4 separate regions of the Homo sapiens genome follow, and all the other regions are linked to region 2. The links are contacts of gene promoters, found by promoter capture Hi-C in blood cells and fetal thymus (Javierre and others, 2016). All regions are on one chromosome and are shown on one strand. Each heading gives the region's core, a stretch centred on a gene start or on the middle of the fragment in contact. The rest is flanking DNA. Distances are from core to core; before and after follow the strand shown.

Evidence for each region. Contacts are between HindIII fragments. The CHiCAGO score rates a contact against its expected background, and 5 or more counts as called.
Region 1: a contact is called between a fragment that was not itself captured here and the fragment with the promoter of CFAP58-DT in region 2, in 4 of 17 cell types (M2 macrophages, neutrophils, M0 macrophages and 1 more). The highest score is 8.7, in M2 macrophages.
Region 3: a fragment that was not itself captured here is called in contact with the fragment with the promoter of CFAP58-DT in region 2 in 2 of 17 cell types (M2 macrophages and M0 macrophages); the score reaches 10.0 in M2 macrophages.
Region 4: a contact is called between a fragment that was not itself captured here and the fragment with the promoter of CFAP58-DT in region 2, in 1 of 17 cell types (neutrophils). The highest score is 5.2, in neutrophils.

The regions. Positions count from the first base shown.
Region 1 is chr10:104,584,985-104,588,138 of GRCh38, reverse strand. LOC105378464 (a long non-coding RNA gene) reads right to left here. Exons shown (of 8, transcript XR_007062285.1): 2 at 2,539-2,782. Among named protein-coding and RNA genes, the nearest start is that of SORCS3, 55 kb to the left of the region's middle. The HindIII fragment of the contact is 2,310 bases long and covers 359-2,668 here.
Region 2 is chr10:104,352,082-104,355,647 of GRCh38, reverse strand. CFAP58-DT (CFAP58 divergent transcript) reads left to right here and starts at 2,073. Exons shown (of 2, transcript NR_108036.1): 1 at 2,073-2,530. CFAP58 (cilia and flagella associated protein 58) reads right to left here and starts at 1,815. Exons shown (of 18, transcript NM_001008723.2): 1 at 1,742-1,815. The coding sequence starts at 1,750. RefSeq lists enhancers at 2,086-2,145, 3,423-3,532, 3,553-3,566. The HindIII fragment of the contact is 7,343 bases long and covers 1,364-3,566 here.
Region 3 is chr10:104,564,464-104,567,621 of GRCh38, reverse strand. LOC105378464 (a long non-coding RNA gene) reads right to left here and starts at 676. Exons shown (of 8, transcript XR_007062285.1): 1 at 599-676. The HindIII fragment of the contact is 9,974 bases long and covers 1-3,158 here.
Region 4 is chr10:104,522,079-104,525,387 of GRCh38, reverse strand. No RefSeq gene overlaps it. Among named protein-coding and RNA genes, the nearest start is that of LINC02620, 43 kb to the right of the region's middle. The HindIII fragment of the contact is 2,140 bases long and covers 606-2,745 here.

The DNA of each region.
Region 1 (3,154 bases), core at 264-2,763, 230 kb before region 2:
TTAATATAAATTAGGTGTTTTTTTAAAAAATAACTATATTTTCAAAAATTTAAAAAACTAGTGAATTGAGCGGCATTGTTTTGCTTATTTGCAAATCTCTATATTGGCTGGCTTAATAGAAGTCAATTGGAGTCATATGTCTGCTTCTCCATTCAATCTGTTTTGATTTCACACATTGTGTAGACTTTGGATAACTCCACTGTTCACTCATGACAGAGATTTTAAAAAGACAAGTGTTTTAGCTTTATGATAAAAATAACCCATGTGAGTTTCCAGAACACACTTTAAGAATCACTACTTGAAACCTTCCAAACTAATTTAAAGGACTGACAAGCCTGCTAAAGATCAGGGCTAAGCTTGTTGAGGAGTCAAATGGCCATGGCACTTTACTGCTGATGAGAAAGTGGGAATACCAGCATCAAGCAGAAGCAATCACACCCCATCCCAACCAGTTAGTTCCAGGAGGACAGCGCACCAATTCTGTTTTGTTCACTGCTCTATCCGCAGAGCCTGGAACCCCTGGTAGGCACTCAATAAGTATGTGTCGAACAAATCGTTGAAATAAATGCATCAATGTATATGTGTGTGTGTGTGTGTGTGTGTGTGTGTGTGTGTGCGCGCGCGCGCGCGCGCGCGCGCATATATAAAGATTCTATCAAAAAAAATTTAATAGAAAGATAAAAGGAAAGTACAGAGACCTTGAGTGAAAAACCACATCCTGGAACACCCAGCCTCCAGAATAGCAACCAGACAGGCGGCACCTTCACAGCCATTGCTGTACCTTGCTCATCTGTTACCCTTGCGACCCTCAGCTGCTCCCCCTTTGTTGGGTAAATGATCACAGAGTGAAGAAATGGCTTATTCTTCAAGCACCGCTCCTGTCACTTGTGACTATCAAGTGGTTGTAATCCTCAAAGCTATAGAATTTGTGAAGAGGCCAAGAAATTATCTAGTTATTTCCAATTTCTTTCTTCACCACAGAACCATTATTTCAAATGGAACCCTTACACCACCCACTGCAGGAGAAAGTGAGGTCTTGCCCCAGATGAGGCAGGAAGGGAAGACCAGAGCTGGATGGAATCCGCCTCCTCCTCATCTTCCCCCTCTCCCCACTAGGCTCAGCCCCATCCCAGGAGCCACTAGCAGCCACAGCCCACCCCAGACACATCCAGGAGGCACACATCCGTGGCAGCCCCTGCTTCCAGGTGGGCTAAGGCTCAACCTCCTTCCCATCCCCAGACTCTGTAAGATACCCGTTGTGTCCTTAAACATTTCCTATTTGTTGCTTAAGCCAATTTGAGAAGAGTTTTGTCACTTGCAGCCAAAGTGGCCTTAATCTAGTTACTGGGCTCTCCCAGGTCCCCTAAGCTCAGCACTCACCCAGATGAGCCCTGCTGGGAACCTGTGAGCTGAGGATGGAGGAAAAGACAACAATAACAACCCATGACCTCTAGCTGACCAGCATGTTCCAGCCTATAGGTCAGGGGTCTTTCACACTAGATGAAATCAAAGTTAACCCCCTTACCTTTCTTCCAGCAAATGAGAGATGGAGAGAATTTTTAAAAAGAACACTTTCATTTTTGGCAAGATCTAAATGCAATTATAGCTCAGTAGATCCACGAGAAAATTGACAAGAGCCAATCCTTTGCACAAGGTGTGCTCTGATTTCATGCCGTCAAATTATTTTTTAAAGGGCATTAATATCACAAGCTGATGACTTTTAGCCCTGAGCAAATGATGCATTTTAATGTTTCTTTACACATAGCTCTCAGCCCAAGTGAAGCTGTCTTCGGCAAAGCATTAGCAAACATTTACATTTCAAAACTCAACAGAAGGGTTATTGTTAGATATTTCTTTTCATTTTTTTCATATATGCCCCGACAGATAAATCATATTTCACATGTTAAGTGGTGTGTAGCATTCCGTTTCTAACCCCTGGCAGATCATTAGAAGATAGTGGCACCTACTTTTCAGGCCTAAAATCTAAAGATTGATTTTGAAAGGGAGGAAGAAATACAATGGCATCATCGAACACTGTTACTTTCGTGGCAGGCAGGCTGTTTTTGAAATGATAGTGTGTTTTCAGGTTTCTTTATTCCTCTGCACAAGGGAGGGTGCCAGACATTTGGTGCCTCGTGCTATGTGAGGGTCAGAGCAGGATCATCAGAGCAAACAAAGCCCAGTGGTTAATGTTTTGTTTTCCAGGTGGAGCCTAAGCCAAAATGAGCAAAACTAGGGATGAATGAGGATTAGGATCAATAGGGAGTAGGGGCTCATTTTTCATTTTATAAACTCAAATGGATTCAGAGTTGCAGAAATCAAGGTCTTGAGCATGCAGTCAGGAGCTGCTGCATTGTAAGTCATCTTACAGTACAGTCTAGACTCTGGAGCAAAGTTGTCAAACGTATCCTAGTGTAATGGTTTGAGCATGCAAATTCTGCAGTTGGAAAGGTATGGGTTCAGTGAGACCTTGTAGAAGCCACTGCACCTCTGTAAACTTCCATTTTTCTATCTGTAAAATGGGAATAACATGTTTACCTGTTACTTTGGCTTACTGTTAAAATCCAAGGTGATAATCCATGTGATGCGGTTGGCATGGCCCCTGGCTCATTTTACCTACACAATAAGAACTGTGGGCTCTTGTCATCCTTCCTTTGTAAAAGAAGCTTCCCGTCCAGGCCACTCCACTATCTTCATTGCTTGTGTTTACTTCTCTCCCCAGATCGACTGTGCACCCTCCTGCAAACCTTGCAAGCCCTTCCAAGAAGAATTTGAGCTAATCCTTTGGAGAAGAGAAACAATAATAACAGTTCTAAAACAGGATTGGAGTCATGGGTTGTATAATTCTATACCTTTACTAAAACTCGCTGAATCGTACATGCACAGTGGAGGAATTTTATGGGTATGTGAAGTATATCTCACTAAAAATAAAAGAATAACCGAAAAGGGAAAGTTGCAAAGATTCGAAGAGATTAGTTGATAAAAATTAACAAATGGGTTGAAATCCCCCATTCTTGACTGCTCCTCTCATATCTTTTCTTTTTTTTTTTTTTTTTTTGAGACAGAGTCTCACTCTGTAGCCCAGGCTGGAGTGCAGTGGCACAACCTCAGCTCACTGCAAGCTCCACCTCCCAGGCTAATTTTTTTTTTTTTT
Region 2 (3,566 bases), core at 824-3,323:
TGATTGTTTGCTATGTGCCAGGCACTGTCCTGTCCTAAGTTCTGGGAATATCAATTAGTGGGGAGAAGGAAAAGGGAAAAGGAAAAGAGAACTGCAATATAAGATGAGGCCAGAGGGGAAATAGAGAATTGTGAAAGCAGAATCGAGAAAGTTGGCTGAGGTCAAGTAAGAAGAAAAGTAGAAGAAAGGAAGAAACGAGAGGAGTAACAGAAAGAGGGAAATGGAAATAACTAATCCATAATAGTGGAGCAGCTTCTGAGGCCGGCACCTGGGCAGGGTTCCTCACAGAAATATGCAAATATATCCTGAATAGGGCAGAGCCAAGGAAATGAGGGGCTGGTGCCTCTGGGAGGCTGGGGCTTCCCTATGGGGAATGAAGAATGAAATAAACAAAGATGACTGGTGGGAGAAAAGAGGAGAAAACACTCAAAAGCAATAATGGGACAATAAAGAACTAGAAGGAACAAGAAAGGAAATGGGAAGAAAGAGATACAAATGACTATGGGTAATGGGGAGAAGTGAAGTGGCCACAGCAGCATGGATGTCAGAGAGAGATGTGAGTGATGGAGCCCAGGCGTGAGGAAGATGGATGATATGAAAGAGATCGTATGATAAGGAAAGGAAGGAGGTGTTGACCACGGGAAGACGGAATTTATAAAGCTAGACTGGAGATGGAGGAAAAGCAATGATGAGGGGATGTGAATGGTGCAGAGGAAGCAAGAGAGTAACTAGAATGGGGTGGGGAGGGGGTGGAGCACGATGGTGCTGAAAGATGATGGGGCTTGGGCTGGCTTCATGGGAGTGAAAACTGGTCAGTTGCACAGGGCCCCTTGCTCAGAAAGGCCCCATTCTTGGTTGAATGCTCTGCTGTTCTGTCTTAAAATTATTTGTAATTTTTGAAGAGACTTTGTGTTTTCACTTTGCATCAGGCCTTGCAAATCATGTAGCTGGTCCTGGCTGGAACAGACCGTGGGATGGGTGATGGGGGAAGGGCTCTGATGGGGCCATGAAGGATTTGGGTAGGGCCATAGTGGATGGGGACTGTGAATGGCAAGTAATGACAGGGACCCGAGGCTCTTGAGGTTATACGTGAGGGGGCTAAGGGGCAGGCAGGGAGTCACTGAAGGGTTGCAGAAATAACCCCTCATTGGAGAGGCTGAAAATGGGGTGTACTGTAATATGGGGGAGTGGTGGGGTGATACGAGATGTTAACACAGGAGTCAATGAACACACGGGGCAGAGGTGATGGGCAGAAGAGCCTTAATGAAGCTGTGTGACAGCAGGTGATCACATGTTAGGAAATCAGGGTGTGACAGGTGGACAAGGGCCATTGATTGGGATGACAGCAGGCATCTGTGAAGCTTTCTTCCCGGTTTCCCCTGTGAGATAAGACATCTCCAATATTTCTGTGTGAGCCTCTCTTATGGTATCACTCCATGACTAAAAATCTAGGGCTGGGTGCATGTCACGTGTGGATTTCAGAATTCATTAATTTTCTACCGCACTTAGCATAGCGCCGATGCCACAGTGGGGATAGTGGGGTGTCCACACAAATGAAGGAGAAACAGGAGGTAAAGAGGCCAGAGCCAACGGAGAAAGGCGCGGGAGTGAGTGAGGGTGCAGGGGAATAAGATGTTGATGGGGGGAAATATTGGAATCACCGTTTGTGACAATCGTCAGTAGGAGAGGGACAATGGGGAGGGGTCAAGGGAAAGGCGACAGAGGGGCGCTGACTCCTGACCTCAGCCATCCTGATGCTCTCTGGGGGCGGCCTCAGAGGCTGCTGTGGAGATCGCAGGAGCTGGGCCGGAGTCTGGGAAAGAAGCTAAAGGCGCGACGCGCTGTCTCTATCGCCCGCCCCGAGCGGAAACCCGCGCTCGGCGCGTCGGCCCGTCGCCTGGCAACGGACACGCCCTCTAGGGGCGCTAGCGGGAATTCGAAAGGGGAGGAGCTTCTGCGGCTGGCACCTGGGCAGGGTTCCTCAGAGAAATATGCAAATATATCCCAATGGGGCGGAGCCAAGGAAGTGAGGGGGCGGTGCCCCTGAGAGGCTGGGAGGAGTCCCACGGTGTGGGCAGATGGAGACACCCAGGAGAAAGAAGAGGGCGAATTGGAAGAGGCCACCCAGAAAGGACGGTGTGTGACACTAGGGAGCCAAGCATGGAGAGCCGAGGACTAACGCTTGGAAGGAAATGTGGACCAGAAGGTTCCGGATGAGGGAAGGACTGGCGGCTACACTCTGCCTTCCGAGACAACGAGGAATAATCTCACTTCAGTCAGTTCAACCCTTGTAAAACAGCTACTGTGTGCAAGACACGGAGGGAAAGCTGAAGTAGAGAAACCACAGACGCTGTCTTCAAAGGGTTTAATCTAATATTAGTGATGAGAAAAATAGGGTGCAGAGCTTAAGGCATCCTGGAAAAACGTATGTAGCGCCACATCGCGAAAATCTCTCTTCTGGGACCCCTCTCCCAAAAACGTTTCTTCGCCCTCTTCTCCCCCTTCTGCCTCCACTCTTTCTGGACTTCAGGTACAAATAGTTGAAATAATTATACTCCTTGGTTCATGAAATGTGTAAGACTCCTCTCTGGTTTTATTTTCCCCCTTTATCCCCATCCCTACTCCCAACCCCTATCCTCAACCCCATAGGCATTCATGCTGCTGTGCTTCCATATGTATTTTTGGGAAATGTACAAAATTTTTATCAGTGTATTTTTTAAAAATGTTTAAATAATGCTACTGGACTTTGGAGATTATCTTATTTTCTACTTTTTTCACTCAACATTCTTTTTAAGGATCTGTCCTCGTTGCGATTGGCAAGCATATAGTTCATTGCTTCTGAGTACTGCACAGCGTTTCATAAGGGGCATCTACCACACTTCACTTCCATTCCCCAGGTGTTAGGTAACAAGGCCGCCTCTAATTCTCCAATACATCAAGTAATACAGCCATGATCGTCTTTGTCCGTGGTCCCTTAAGGACCTCTGTGCAAATTCCTCTGAAATATATGCCAAGGAGTAAGATTGTTAAAGTTATAGGGATGCACAGGGACATTTGCTTATGCAGCTGCGTCCTGCACAAACACATCCAGCCATGGGGCAATGGAGGCTGAAAAACTGTCTCTACTCTCTTTCCCGTGCCATGTGCCCTACTGGAGAAAGGTGTGCACTTTTTATTCTCACAAAATCTCTGTACGCCAGCCAAGTCATGAACCTAGAAGGCTGTAACTATCTAGAGGGTGTGATATTTTCAAACTCATCTGGCCAGATGAACAGTTTTCCAAGAGCACAACGATGCCCAGTAGCCTAGTACAAGCCCTGGGTACTTACCAAGCACTTTAAGATTGTGTACCAGAGTTACTGCCCTACGCTGCACTCCAGTGTGGGGTTTCCATCCAACACTTCCATCCATCCCTTCCAGAAGGTGATAGGTCTTTTTTATTAAACACTCATAAAGTGTTTAGTAAATACCAGATACTATTCTAAGTGCTTTGCAAATATTGACTCATCTAATTAGCTAATTTTCTAATTTCTGTCAATATGATGAAAGTAGTGTAAGCTCATTTT
Region 3 (3,158 bases), core at 37-2,536, 210 kb before region 2:
AAACGACGGGCCTTTCAATAAGTGGTGTTGTCACAAGAGCATAGCCACATGCAGAAGAATGAAATTAGATCCTATCTTATACCATATATAAAAACTAACTCAAAATGGATTAAGACTTAATCATAAGACTTGAAACTGTAAGACTACTAGATGAAAACATAGAGGTAGAATTTCATGACATCAGCATGGGCAATTATATTTTACACATGACCCTAAAAGCACAGGCAACAAAAGCAAAAATAGACAAGACTACATCAAACTAAAAAGTTTCTGCACAGCTAAGGAAATAATAAACAGAGTGATGAGACAACCCACGAATTGGAAGAATGTATTTGCAAACCATACACCTGATAAGGAATTGATATCCCAAACATATAAAAAACTCAAACAACTCTATAGTAAGAGAACCAGTGACTGATTTTAAAGTGAGCCAAAGGACCTAAATAGACATTTCTCAAAATAAGACATATGAATGGTCAACAGGTATATGAAAAAATGTTCAACTTCAGTAATCATTAGATGTCTCAGTCTGTTCCTACTGCTGTAACAGAATACCTTAGACTGAATAATTTATAAACAACAGAAATGTATGGCTCACAGTTCATAAGACTGGAAAGTCCAAAATCCAGGTGCCAGCAAATTCTGTGTCTGATGAAGACTTGTTCTGTGCTTCAAAAATGGCTGTGTGCTCACATGAAGAAAGGGATAAGGGCGGTCCTTTGATTCTCTTTTATGAGGTCATTAATCCCATTCATGAGGGTGAAGCCCTCATGACTTACTCATTTCCCAAAAAACCCACTTCTTAATACTATCACAGTCGGTTTTAGATTCTAACATATAAATGTTGAGGCACACATGAACATTCAGACCATAGCATCAGCAAAATACAAATTAAAACCACAATGAGATATCACCTCATACCTGTTAGAATGATTATATCAAAAAGATAAAAGATAACAAGTGCTGGCAAGGATGCGGAGAAAAGAAAACCTCTGTATACTGCTGGTAAGAATGTACATTAGTACAGATATTATGGAAAATAGTATGGAGATTCCTCAAAAAATTAAAAATAGAATTACTCTAGAATCCAACCACTCCACCGCCAGGTATATAGCCAAAGGAAATAAAATCAGTATGTTGAAGAGGTATCTGTACTCCTATGTTCACTGCAGCATTATTCACAACAGCCAAGATATGGAATTAACCTACATGTTCATCAAGGGATACATAAAATGTGGTATATATATACATGATGGAATACTATTCAGCCTTTAAAAAGAAAAAAATCCTGTCATTTGTGATGACATGAATGAATCTGGAGGATATTATGTTAAGTGAAATAAGCCAGGCACAGAAAGACAAATACGGCATAATCTCACTTACACGTAGAATATAAAAAAGTTAAACTCATAGAAGCAAAGAGTAGAATGGTAGCTACCAGGTGCTGTGGGGTAGGGATTGAGGAGATGTTGGTCAAAACATACAAAATGTCAGTTAGATGGGAGAAATAAGTTCAAGAGATTTATTGTACAACATGGTGACCATAATGAATAACAATGTACCCTTGAAACTTCCCAAGAGAGTAAATTTTAGGTGTTCTTACCACAAAAAAATAAGTTTGTGTAGTACTGCATACACTAATTAGCTCAATTGAGCCATTCCACCTTGCATACATATTTTTACATGTCATGTTGTACACGATAAATACATATAATTTTTATTTGTCAATTAAAATAAATAGATAAATTTGAATCTTTAAAAAAAGTATCCAAATTGGAAAAGAAGAAGTAAACCTAGTTCTATTCACAGGTGACATTATCTTACATATAAGAAATCTCAGAGAATCCACAAAATAAACTAGTAGAGCTAATAAACCAATTCAACAATTTCGAAGTATAAGATACAAAAATCAGTTGTGCTTTGATACACCAGCAATAAACAATCTGAAAAGTGAATTAAGAAAAACAATTTCATTTACAATAGCATGAAAAGAATAAAATACCTACAAATAAATCTAACCAGGACGAATAACTTGTATGCTGAAAACCACAAAACATTGTTGAAAGACCTAAATAAGTGTTAAGATACCTCATGTTCATGAGCTGGAAAACTTACTATTGTTAAGATGGCAATACTACTCGAAGTGATCTACAAATGCAATCCTTATCGAAATTCTAGCAGCTTTTTTACAGAAATGAAAATGCCAGCCAGGCACAGTAGCTTATTGTATGATTCCATTTATACGAAATATCTAGAATAGGTAAATCCATAGAAACAGAAAGCACATTGGTGGTTGCCAAGGGCTAGGGGAGGGAGGAATAGGGAGTAACTACTTTCTTTACTTTACTTTCATAGGGTATGAGGCAACTGTTTTAGACGTAGGTAGAGGTAGGCGGTGTTTACACAACATTGTGAATGTACTAAATGCCAGTGAATTGTTCACTTTAAATGGTTAATTTTATGTCGTGTGAATTTCATCTCAATTAAAAAGAAAGAATACACCAGAAAAGCCACTTAAAAAAAAAAAAAGAAGTTTGTTAAAAAACAAAGTTACCTGGAAATAGAAATCAAATCTCAATCATCCTTACAGACCCTTGCTCCCATGACCTTTAGCACAGGATGACACATAAAGACAGAAAATGAATAGTGTTTGCCTGGATGGATGAATAACCTACCCAAAATGATCTACAAATGCAATCCTTATCCAAATTCTAACAGCCTTTTTTACAGAAATGAAAATGTCAGCTGGGTATGGTGGCTCACGCCTGTAATCCTGACACTTTGGGAGGCCAAGGCAAGCGGATTGCCTGAGTTCAGGAATTTGAGAACAGCCTGGGCAACATGGTGAAACCCTGTCTCTACTAAAAATACAAAAAAAAAAAAAAAAAAAAAAAATAGCTGGCCATGGTGGCACGCCTGTAGTCCCAGCTACTCGGGAGGCTGAGGCATGAGAATTGCTTGAAACTGGGAGGCAGAGGTTGCAGTGAGCTGAGATCATAACACCACACTCCAGCAGCCTGGGCGACAGAGTGAGACTCCATCTCAAAGAGAAGAAAAAGCCAATCCTCAAACTCATATGAAATTTTCCAGGGTCCTTGAATAGCCAAAACGATATTGAAAAACAAGAGCAAAGTTGGTATACTCACATTTTCCAATTT
Region 4 (3,309 bases), core at 426-2,925, 170 kb before region 2:
CAGAGCCTGGCACGTAGTAGATGCTAAGTAAAACTGCCATCCCAGCTGTGGCCACCACAAGGCCCCACAGGATGACTTTCAGGCCCCAGCACTGGGCTCCAGTTCCTTGGGAACTGCTGCGGATTAGAAGTGGGTGAGAAGTTTGGCTTGAAGAAGGACCATGCACCCTCTTGCCTGGCCACTATCATGCTCTGGCAAGTCCAGGTCTTGAAGAGAGTGCACTGTGTGAAAACTCTCACGCCACAGGCGAGGATGGAAGCCCAGTTAGGCTCCCTCACCTCTTGTGTCCCATCCCTTATGCCAGCAGTAATCCAGTGAGCTGGCCAGGGAACCCCATGACGGAATGACGGAAAGGGCCAATTTTCCAAAAGGCATCTAAGTCAGACTCTTTGTCTGAAATCCATACACCCTCGCAAGCACACACAGACATTATTTTAGGCTGCAGAGTTACTCACAGAAGTCAGCAACGGGAAAACAACAACAACAACAACAAAAACAACACCATTTGTAACTATAGGGGGAAAAGTGCTGCTTTTCAAAGAAACCCCATTTCATTCTTTCCCTCACAAAAGTCATCATCCTTCAGGTTTTAGCAGCAACAAGCTTGGCTTGTAGGAAAGATTTGGGGGAAAATATTTTTTTCCTTCCTTCAGTCTTCCATTCGAGGAATAAGCAACCACTTCTTCAAGTCACTGATTGTTTCATTCTTTCTAAAATGTCCACCTCAACCCATAAAGACAATGAACATCACAAGGCCTCCTATGTTTTTCAGCCTACATTTTAAGTTAACAATTGTATTAAGCAACAGTTGCTGCATTAACAAACAAACAACCTCCAAATATCAGTGACATCCAATAATATGCATTTATTTGTCACTCACAGGCTTGCGGATTGGCTGGGGCAGGTCTGGTCCATGTGTTTCTCATCCTCCTCCTTAGGTCAGGAGACCTAACAGCACAGAGGGCAAGTCAAGTTCATACACATGTTCTAAGCCTCTACTTGCATGGTGTCTGTGAGCATCCCATTGGCCAAAGCAAGTCCAATGGCCAAACTCAAAGTCAAAGGGCATGGGTAGAGAAAGAAAAACCCATCCTCTGCAGCAAGTGAACTATCCGCTGTTCACCAAGTCCCACACTTGCTGCATTTTCACTATATCCCATGGCAAGGAACCATGGGATACCATGTTGAATTAGATCCAGTCTCCACCCTCAAGGAATTTACAATCCGATAAAGAAAACAAATGGATCCATAAAATGGTGACATTTGAATGTAAAGCAAAGATCATGGGAAGAGGGAAGGGAGTGACATATTTTGTCTATGATAGTCAAGGAATACTTTGCAGGGAGGGGGACAGCTTATGTACAAGAATGATTTTGATAGGTAAAAAAAGAAAGGAATCCTTAGGCCACCAGCCAAGGGCAAGCTATCCAAGATCAGTGATGATGGCTGATGATGGGTTCTTTTATATTGTAACCTGCTTTAATAAAACTGGATAATGACAGTCCAGAGGATGCTGGCTTCTGTGCATGAAAGTGCTGAAGAGGATTTGAGAGGTCACCGAATCCAACCCTATATCAGGATCCCCAAACCCTGTGAGGGCCTGGACACACAAAAATGAATGAGACATAGTTCTCTGCATTCAGATTGGGCAGTCCTTAAAGTACTCAGAATAAATGAGAAATGCTTGCATGTGTGGTGGGGTACACGGCTTGTAATTGTCAGAAATCCACAGGACAGGTAGTAACAGCAAAACCACACAAAGCAAGGACAGTGTTAACGTAGCAGCCTCAAGGACAACAGAAAAGCTGGGAGGCGGCTCAAAGCCAGGATCCATGCTCTGCCCCTTTCCCTGGAGGAGAATCTAAATTCTCTGTCAGTTCAAGTGCCTGGAGTTGAGTTTCTCTTGAAGCTCCCAGGCTCCGAAGGATTCAAAAGAAAACCCTGTTTATCTTCCCAGAACTTGGAAATTAGGGCCAAGATCACCTCTTCAGATCCATTTGTTCTCACTCTCATTGAGGAAACCAAGGCAGCATAGTAGACACTTTTCCCAAGGACATCTGGAAGTTAATGTGGCACGGAAATTCTCAATATGAATTCTAGGGATGGTCATCAGTATCTGTAAACATCCTGAAATGACACATAAAATGTGTTTTCATAAGTGTAATTTCGGAATAAGAAGTCATAGTTTTCATTATATTTATATTCTCAATATGATTATGACCCCTTCCCAAGACATTTAAAAATTTGGTCCACTCATCTCTTCATTTGTTTATTCAGTTTATTCAACAAACACTTCTTAATGCTGACGATTTGGAGACTGGGGAGATGAGACACCTTCCTCTCCTCCACAGTCTTCAGGTAGGACAATCTGTACATCATCTTGCTCTTCCAAGGGGCCTGTTAGACAGGTCAGCAGAACATTAAACCCTTTCAAAATGTGGGCTCATCTGGCCACTCACATTTACTCTGTGTGATTCCAAATCCTCTCCCTTCCACATCACTCCCTCCCTGCTTTTCTCCCTTCCTGCTTTCAACTAATACTTAAGGAGCGCCTGCTTTGTGCCTGGCCCTGGGCTACATCTTGCTTAAATGCTGGAGCCACATTCTGAACTGAGCCAATTCTGACGCAGTTTGTCTTTGTGGCAAAAAAAAAAAAAAAAAAAAAAAAAAAGCCTAAAGTCTTCCTTCTTCCCTTCTCCTCCCCTCTCCCCCCGCCACCCTGCCCTGCCCCATTCAGGGAAAGCTTTGTTTTCTTCTTGAAGGAGCTGTAATGAAGCCTTCCCCTATATTTATGGTTTATGAAAGAACATTAGAGAATTGCCATGGTTACAGGCCCTGTTCTGCCTCCTCTGAGGACCAGAGGGAGCTGGAGAAAAGCACCAAGCGATGGCTCCTGGTGCCACTCAGCCCAGAATCATCATTTAAAAAAAAAATGTTTACATCAGAGGAGAAGTTGCTTCTCAAAAAGCAAAGGGAAAACCCCAGGTTTGATGAGATTGTTACACAGATTCTTGGCTGGGTTGTTTCTCCCTCGCCCCTCTTCTCCCTGCTCCATTATTATTTAAGGTTGTATTAAATCAGGCAAAGGGAGCAGACGACAAAATGCAACTTCGTGTTGGCAGCTCTGGCAAGACGCCCAGGCTCAGAGCTGGCCTCACATCCCGTCCTCTTCAATCTTCAGCAGCAGCAGTGGCAGCAGTGATGGCTGCCAGGATCAGAGTCTCCTGGTCTCATGGCAGATCCTGCTTTCGACCAAGCCCTGAATTGACAAGTTTGACCTGTTCCAGCTCCAGTCCCTGGGGATTGATG